Regions from separate parts of the Homo sapiens genome. Here region 2 is linked to region 1. The links are contacts of gene promoters, found by promoter capture Hi-C in blood cells and fetal thymus (Javierre and others, 2016). All regions are on one chromosome and are shown on one strand. Each heading gives the region's core, a stretch centred on a gene start or on the middle of the fragment in contact. The rest is flanking DNA. Distances are from core to core; before and after follow the strand shown. Region 1 holds the start of ADAM18 (ADAM metallopeptidase domain 18). Region 2 has its middle 210 kb from the start of ADAM32.

The links. Contacts are between HindIII fragments. The CHiCAGO score rates a contact against its expected background, and 5 or more counts as called.
Region 2: a fragment that was not itself captured here is called in contact with the fragment with the promoter of ADAM18 in region 1 in 1 of 17 cell types (neutrophils); the score reaches 5.9 in neutrophils.

What each region holds. Positions count from the first base shown.
Region 1 is chr8:39,583,060-39,587,395 of GRCh38, forward strand. ADAM18 (ADAM metallopeptidase domain 18) reads left to right here and starts at 1,509. Exons shown (of 20, transcript NM_014237.3): 1 at 1,509-1,618; 2 at 2,217-2,293. The coding sequence starts at 1,564. RefSeq lists an enhancer at 1,675-2,174. The HindIII fragment of the contact is 1,955 bases long and covers 372-2,326 here.
Region 2 is chr8:39,320,015-39,324,690 of GRCh38, forward strand. It overlaps the pseudogene ADAM5. Among named protein-coding and RNA genes, the nearest start is that of ADAM32, 210 kb to the left of the region's middle. The HindIII fragment of the contact is 5,299 bases long and covers 1-4,508 here.

The DNA of each region.
Region 1 (4,336 bases), core at 259-2,758:
AGGGGGTACTGGAGTAAAAGGCTTGAGTGTGATAGATGGGTTGGGTTTTGGACATGTGCCATTTAAGATATTTGTCAAAAAGTTAAGGGAGGCAGTTGCATAGTCTTCTACAGTGGTCTCAATTTTTCTCTCTCCCCTTGCCTTGCTGCCCTTCCTGTCTCCACAGTTTCTTACTTAGAGCTTAGAGTCACTGTTAACAAAACAGTCAGATTGCATTGTAAAGGTTTTCTTTTCCCTTAGAACACTATATTATAATCTTGTGTAGTAAGCAAGGTACACAGTTGAAGTAAAGTGCTTTCTGATTGTCTTTTCAAGATAAAGTTCCATTTTCTTGAATTCTCTTTATTTGCAAAAATAACACTAAATATTAAAGCTTTCCTTTCTCTTTCCTCCACTGATTATAATATAGTTTTATGAGAAAAATACACTGTTGAAGAAATGTGCTTTTTGATGGTCTTAGTGGGATCAACTCCATTTTCTTTTCTGCAAATTTATTTCAAATAATTTTGTGTATTTATAGGGTACAGCGTGATGTTTTGATCTATCTATACATTATAGAATGCTTCAGTCAAGCTAGTTAATATACCCATCTCCTCATCAATTTATCTTTTCTTTGTGGTGAGAACATTGAAAATAAATTTTAGCAATTTTGAAATATGCATTATTATTAACTGTGATCACCATGTAGTGCAAGAGATCATTAAAACTTATTCTTTCAGTCTGACTCATATTTTGTACCTTTAGATCAACATTTTCCCTTTCCCCATCCCTCATCCCACCTTCCCTGGCCTCTAGTAATCATCCTTCTATAAGATAGACTTTATTAGATTCCACATTCAAATGAGATCATACAGTATTTGTCTTTCTGTGCCTGGCATATTTCCCTTAGCATAACGTTCTCTGGTTCCATCCCTGTTGTTGCAAATGAATTTCCTTCGTTAAGGCTGTATACTATTCCACTGTGTATATTTACCACATTTTCTTTATTTACTCATTCCTCATTGACACTTAGGTTGATTCCATATCTTGGTTATCATGAATAACGGTGAAATCGTACCAGCATTAAAAAGTTCAATTTTCTTGATTTTTCCGTATTTGCAAAGATATTTAAGTCAGCAGTAGCATGTAGAAAATTGCTAGTAATAATAGCTAATAATAATAGCTGTTATTTCCCTTTTCCTCTTTCTCCTCCACCTTAGTAAATAAAACCTGCCATAAAACTGTGATATGGAGAAACAAAATTACCAACCTCACTAAAGAAAACCTCACTAAAAAGGAAAATCTAGCTTATTTACCCCAATGTAACTACTGAGGGCTTTAAACAACTTAAACGTCTCTGCAACAAATTTTGTGCAAACACCTATGCTTGCATCTGGCATTTCCCCTCCCCGCCCTGCGGAAGTGGCCCAGCTCTCAGAGCTCCTCAGACCTCACCCCCAGGGTCCTGGGGCAGCACAGGGTCCTCCCTGGCCCAGGCGCCCGGTGGCCGAGAGCCTGCCCGCGAGCTCAACGCTGCTCAACGGTCTCTGTCCTTGGCTGTGGCTCCTGCGCTCTGGCTGAGCCATGTTCCTTCTCCTCGCCCTCCTCACTGAGCTTGGAAGACTGCAAGCCCACGAAGGTAAGTCCATGGGAGCCTCCCCTTTCTTCTTCGACTTTATAGCTGGGCTGGGCTCTTACTGGGAGCAGTTTCTTGTCATTCTGGGACCCTCCCCCTCTCCCTTCTGGGATCCCATGCTGGTGCTTCTGGTGTGTCAGGGACACCTTTCCACGCCAGGCCAGGGGGAACTAAAGGCCTTAGCGGAGGACCTGTTAGCGCTCTGCATCAGCGCCCATGGTCTCAGTGGCCCACACGCAGTGCGTCTTCTGGCATCTTCCCACTCTGTGAAGGAGGGTGGAGGTGGTGGAGTACTAACTGCCTTCAGCGAACTCCTCAGAGTCCTGAGGAAGCAAGTCTCTCATCGATTCTAAAAGGGAACCAGAGGGGCCTGTAGAACTGCAATGTCTAATTTTTTTTTCTTTTTTTGTGTCTTAGCCATTTTCAATGTGCTGTTGATTATGTAGTGAAATTTGTGGACTAGAAAGAGTGTGAGCACATGAGAGAACTTCTACTTAAAATTTTAGGCGCCACCATGCAGTCCGGGATAAGAACCCGTGCTTGACTGAGACGATTGTTGATGCAAAACAAAGACAAAAACAAACACATTTTCTTACTGCAGGTTCTGAAGGAATATTTCTGCATGTCACAGTTCCACGGAAGATTAAGTCAAATGACAGTGAAGTTTCAGAGAGGAAGGTAAATGATGAGGAATATTTATTCTATATTTAAAGCTTTATGGCAATTTTTATTTACCCTTATATTAAGTCAGATCATACTAATTTGTATTCATTGCCAAATCATAATATTTTGCCTGTGCTATTTTGTCTCCTACCGTGTTTTGATCCTCTTGTTCCCCCATTTCTGCTGCTTATTTCCCTGTCTTTTCTCTTCATCTCTTCTTAACATACTACTTGTTCACAATTTCCAAGAAATGCTCAGCAATCAAACTGGTGGGAAAAAGAAATCAATATAAAATATTCATGACCATGGTTCAGCCAACAAATTAACAAATTTTTTATTGTCCAGTAAATGATGTAGAAATTTGTCATAAGTAAAATTTAGACATGCAAAATTTGACCCACAAGCATCAGTCTTAATAGCACGTAATGTACAAAGAAATTTTAAAAAAGCAAAGAAAAAATAAAAATATCACATTTGCCCTATTATGATGAAAAATATTACAATAAGTAAATATTAACTGGAAAAAGAAGTTGGAAAATTACTAACCTGCCTGCTAGATTAAAAACTGATTAAACTGAAGGCATTCAGTCTTGCATGTTTTCTTGATTGAAACACCTGAAATTGACAGATTTAAAATGTTTTATTTTACAAACTGGAAGTCACAATATAGGGGTTTATATTTCTATGCAGTCAAAATGGGCACAATATATGTCAACTCTGAAAATGTTTCAGGTTGAAAGAGTGATTTTAAAATTATGAGTAAGGAAAAGATTAATCTATTAATTCTATTTTGGCACACAATATTGGGACCTACCATGGCTATGTTCTACTAGTGAACAATTATAATAAAGTATATGTCAAATTATGTTTGGGAATCACAATAAAATGAATACTTTCTTTTAGAGAAGTTGGAAAGGATTTTCATATATAAATCTTATTTATCACATTATCCTTCTGAAATAGGATTATTTATTACATATATTCTTTTTAAAAGACAGAGGATTAAAAAATATTAATGGCATCAAATCTGTGTTAGCATGTAGAGTCTAATCTTTAATTTTTAACTCCATTTCCACTACAGTAAGCTGCTTTCTGTTGAAGAATTATTTGCATAAGTTATTTTCTGCCAACACAATCCCATCCCAACACTTTGGGATCCCAAGGTTGGAGGATCGCTTGAGCCTAGGAGTTTGAGGCTGGCTTGGGCAAGTTGGTGAGACCCCATCTCTACAAAAATAACTTAACTGGGTGTGGTGGTGTGTGCCTGTAGTCCCAGCTGTTCTGGAGGCTGAGGTGGGAGTACCCCTTGAGCCCAGCGGTTGGAGGCTGCAGTCAGCTGTGATTGTGTCACTGTACTCCAGCCTGGATGACAGAGCAAGACTTCATCTCTTAAAAACAAAAAACAAACAAACAAAAAACTATCTATCTATCTATCTATCTATCTATCTATCTATCTATCTATCTATATCTATCTATCTATCATCTATTCTGTTTTTTCCCCAGATTTACTACTATTGTACATTGTCATTGCATAATCACTGTAAACTTCAAATTTCTTACTACTTGTCAAGAAGCATATAGCAACTACGCAGGGCTTGATGAAATAGTTTTACTATGAGAGACATGCAGTATTCATTCGTTGTCTACACTTTTGGTATTATTTATATGGAATTCTTGAAGCTATATTTTATTGTATAGGGTATTATTTTCATGTTTTTAAAACTTTATTGAGTTATAATTGATATAAAAATTGCACATATCTAACGTAGACATTTTCCTGAGTTTGAATATATGCATACACCCATGATATCATGACCACAGTCGATGTACTAAACATATCCATCACCTCCAAAAATGTCCTTGCATACTTTTGTTTTGTGTTTTGTGCTAAGAATGCTGAACATGAGAATGATTCTCTTAACATATTTTCAAGTGCACAATGGTGTATCGTTAACTATAGGTACTATGTTATACAGCATATCTCTAGAACTTATTCATCTTTCATTACTGGAACTTTGTATTCATTGAGCAATAATTCCCTATTTCTCTCGACCCAGA
Region 2 (4,676 bases), core at 609-3,108, 260 kb before region 1:
TGCACCACCATGCCTGGCTAATTTTGTGTACTTTTAGTAGAGATGGGGTTTCATCATGTTGCCCAGGCTGGCCTTGAACTCCTGCCCTGAAGCATTTCTCCCTCCTTGGCCTCTCAAAGTGCTGGGATTACAGGCGTGAACCACTGCACCCAGCCAACATTCTGTTTCGAGAAGAAATCATGGTAGAGCACAGAGGTGTGAGACAGAGTGGCTTTTCTGATGTGCATAGTCAATGTGAATTACTGAAGCACAAATTTTCTGAAAAATAGAGGTAAAAGATTCGGGAAAGGTAGGTAGGAGCCAGGCTGTAGAAGATTCAGAATGCCATGGTCAGATATTGGGAGCCAAAAATGGTTTTAAGTATGTACTTATGTAGCCACATTGAGTCTTTTAGGCTGTTTTTGAGGGGACAAATTAGAGTTAAGGTGATCAATTATATCACGATACAGTTTAGGTGAGTAACAGTGGTGGTTTGAATGATGGCACCAGTGATAGCACTTGAAAGAAAAATCGGTGGACCTCAATATAGATTTGGTAGAATGATTAGTAAACAGTGAGGAATTTCAGATAATTTAGTTGTCGCTCAAGAAAATGAATAGGCTATAGCATAATTAACTGAGGAATATGAACAGGGGATATATTTGTGTGAGGAAGGGGTGATTTCGGTTTTTTAGCACATATGAGATATCCAAGTGTGTTTTTTCCTCTAGATCAGGGGTGTCCAATCTTTTGGTTCCCCTGAGCCACACTGGAAGAATTGTTTTGGGCCACATATAAAATACACTTATGGTAGCTGATGAGCTAAAAAAAAATTTAAAAATCTCATAATGTTTTAAGAAAGTTTACAAATTTGCATTGGGCCGCATTCAAAGCCATCCTGGGCCATATGTGGCTAGGAAATTTGAATCTCTGAAAATATTCAATAGGAATATTGGAAAATAGTTTTAGCTATAGGTATATAGATTGAGCAGAAAGCAGTAGCTTGGCTGTGTTTTTTTTTTAATGAGTGCTCTTACGTAGGGTGCTTATAAATAGATCGTGGCTAAAGACTGGACCCTGGGAAACGGCAATGTTTCCTGGGATAGGTTGAACAAAAACAGCAGCCAACATGGAAGATAAAGCTGGAGGGACCAAGGAGGTAGGAAGAATAGCAGAAGAATGAAGTGTTATGTAAATTAAGTGAGGGGACTGAGTGGCCACAGTTTTCAAAAAGAAGCTAGAGGTCCAATGTAACAATGATTTTTTAAAATGCCTTTTGGATTTGGCGTTCTAATATTTGTGGATCTTTTCCAGGGAAGTTTTAGGGATAATAAGAATTGAGAAAGTGAAGGAATTGTGTGTAGACAATTCTTTTGATGAAATCTGTTAAGAATTGAAAAACATGTACATAAGGAATAGCTACAGTAGAACATGGGGTCAAGAAAGAGTTCTTTAGGATAATAATGACTTATTAGTATCATTTTAAATAGCATTATGATAAAAATCCAGTAGAGCATAAGAGTTCAAAATTATAGGATAGAAAAAGTAGTGTCCTCCGTATATGGCACAGGATGGTATCTGTAGCACCAGTGTAAGGGTTTGTTCTGAATGAAAGCAGTAATCTTCTGGCAATAAAGATAAGGAGTGCAGATGGGAACAGGTGATCTGACAGTGAGGGAACATGGGGGTTTTGTGGGATGAGTGACAGGAGTAGTCTCAAGTTTTTGAATAGTTACTGAGGGAAATAAAATTCTGACCGGAGTTATTGAGAAGAAATTGGCCCTTAGCATAGCTTAGCAAATATGAATTTGTAGTGAGAACAAGTAACTCTTTCTACATTTTCTGTTTGTATTAGTCTGTTTTCACACTGCTGATAAAGACATACCCAAGACTGGGCAATTTACAAAAGAAAGAGGTTTATTGGACTTACAGTTCCACATGGCTGGGGAGGCCTCACAATCATGGTGGAAGACGAGGAGCAAGTCACCTCTTACGTGGATGGCAGCAGGCAAAGAGAGAGCTTGTGCAGAGAAACTCCCGTTTTTAAAACCATCAGATCTCATGAGACCCATTGATTATCACAAGAACAGCATGGGAAAGACTCGCCCCCATGATTCAGTCATCTCCCACTGGGTCCCTCCCACAACATGTAGGAATTATGGGAGCCGCAAGATGAGATTTGGGTGGGGACACAGAGCCAAACCGTATCACTGTCCTAACCTTACACTTTAATTTTGAAACTTTGGTATAAAATCTAAAATCAATGAGTGAAATAGACAAAGACTAGAAAGTTCTATGCTGGAAATTGGGACCTATGCTATTTCCTCTTCATGTCTCTAGCAATCTGAGTTGCTCACTTATCTGCATTTTTGTATTGTATGTTATTCTAGTTAAAATGTCTCACTAAGCACCTAATTCAGTTTAAGTGCTAGAAATGCATGGACAATAATAAAACAAGTCGATTAGCACTACTTTAAATTTTTCAGTAAAAAGAAAATTTGTATAAGAATATTTTTTCTACCTTTTTGGTTTCACAACTTGAGCATGTTTTTATTATTTTTGCCTAGATCAATTTTATCTTCAGCTTCTGTTATTAATTCTTATGACGAAAATGACATCCGTCATTCCAAACCTCTGCTAGTTCAGGTAAGAATTAGGTTATTTTTTTCTTATGTATTTGTAATTCTAGATTTCTTTAAAAAGACAAATATTCTATAATAACTAGAATGTTATTTTACATATTCGCTGAAATTGAATAACTTGGGCTGGTGCTTATTTCTACATGGCACAAATTTATTAGGTAATTGCCAATCATATTAAAGTAGAAATGTAGCTAAAGTAATAAATAGTAAATGTAGCTAAAGTAAAAAATAAATAAAAAATATAAAGTAATACATATAAATAAATATAAATAAAATATATGGGGTGTTTATTTTAAAAATAAGTTATCCATTAATTTTTCTTTTTTTTTCCTAGATGGATTGCAATTATAATGGATATGTTGCGGGTATTCCAAATTCTCTTGTGACTCTCAGCGTATGTTCAGGACTCAGGTTGTAGACTACTTAAAGATACTCAATTTGCCAGTATTATATCCTGCTAGCCTATGAATTAATTCTCCATGTATCTGTTCTAATTCTATAATCACCTTTGTTATATTTCAGTTCCTTAAGGACTGAACCAAAATTACTAATAAAATAGTATTGATATTCTAGCAGTATCTGTTCCTGATGAGAGGCTACCTGTTGATACTGACAGGATCTGCTGCTTTAGGCTTTAAGAAAGGTTGAGTGTAGGGAGATTGATTGGTCTCCTCATACTTTTTTAGTTTTCTCAAATTCTGTTATTGTCCAATTTCCTAATGTCCTAGAAAAATTGACAATTGTGGAATGCATGGGACTAATGGACGCTGGCTCTGCAGTCAGTCATTATTAGGCATATGGTACCTTCAATCCAGCCCACACAAACAAATGATTTAGGGTATCAAGTGTCAGAGGAGAGTTAAGTGTATCAAAGAGAAGGAATCAAAGACTAAAGAAGAGACTGCCTAGAGATTCTACAGGCTGGTTAGAAAATATACATAATAGAAAGGGGTTTCAACCTGTTTAAGTGCACAGATCCATGCCACCACCATGCTTTCTTGAAGATAATCACAGATTTGTAATGTAAGGTAATATGTATCCTGTGATATAGTCGTCTAGTTCTGGTGTAAGAAAGACCCCAAAAGATAAAGAGATAAAAGTAAAAAAAAAAAAAAGCTAAGGTCACTTTAGATCTTAAAAACTGTGGCCCAAATTTCTCGTTATAATATTATGGTTTTAGACCGGGCGCGGTGGCTCACGCCTGTAATCCCAGCACTTCAGGAGGCCGAGGCGGGCGGATCACGAGGTCAGGAGGTCGAGACCATCCTGGCTAACATGGTGAAACCCCGTCTCTACTAAAAATACAAAAAATTAGCTGGGCGTAATGGCGGGCGCCTGTATTCCCAGCTACTCGGGAGGCTGAGGCAGGAGAATGGCGTGAACCCGGGAGGCGGAGCTTGCAGTGAGCCGAGATCGCGCCACTGCACTCCAGCCTGGGCGACAGAGCAAGACTCCGTCTCAAAGAAAAAAAGAAAAAAATTATGGTTTTAGTAGAATCATTTCAGACTTGTTTCGATTGTCTTAACACTCAGGGGAACAATGCAGCTGAAAAACATCTCATATGGAATTGAACCGATGGAGGCTGTATCAGGATTTATACACAAGATTTATGAAGAAAAATATGCTGACACTAATATTCTCTTAGAAGAAAATGACACTTATACTTGGTTTAATTCAGAGTATCAAGTCAGAAAAAGTTCAGAAGTAAGTATTGACTCTTTTATTTTAATTTAGTATAATTTTGTGTAATAAAAAATACTTTCAGAGCCAAGATTTGGTGACTTACAAATCTTAAAACTATTTTACTTCTTCATGAGGGCCCTACATGACTTTTAAAATGGCAAGAGAATAAACTTATGTTTGTCATTATGCTTGCCGTTAGATGAAAGCTTAGCAAAAACTTAATCTTAGAAATATAAAGATATGAATATAGTATAAAAGAAACTGAAACATTAATTTTCATATGTGAACATTTAGATAATTAATGTAAAATATTTTTTCTTCAATTACTCAGAAAATTTAGGGGAGAATATTATACAACCTGGATTTCTCAGT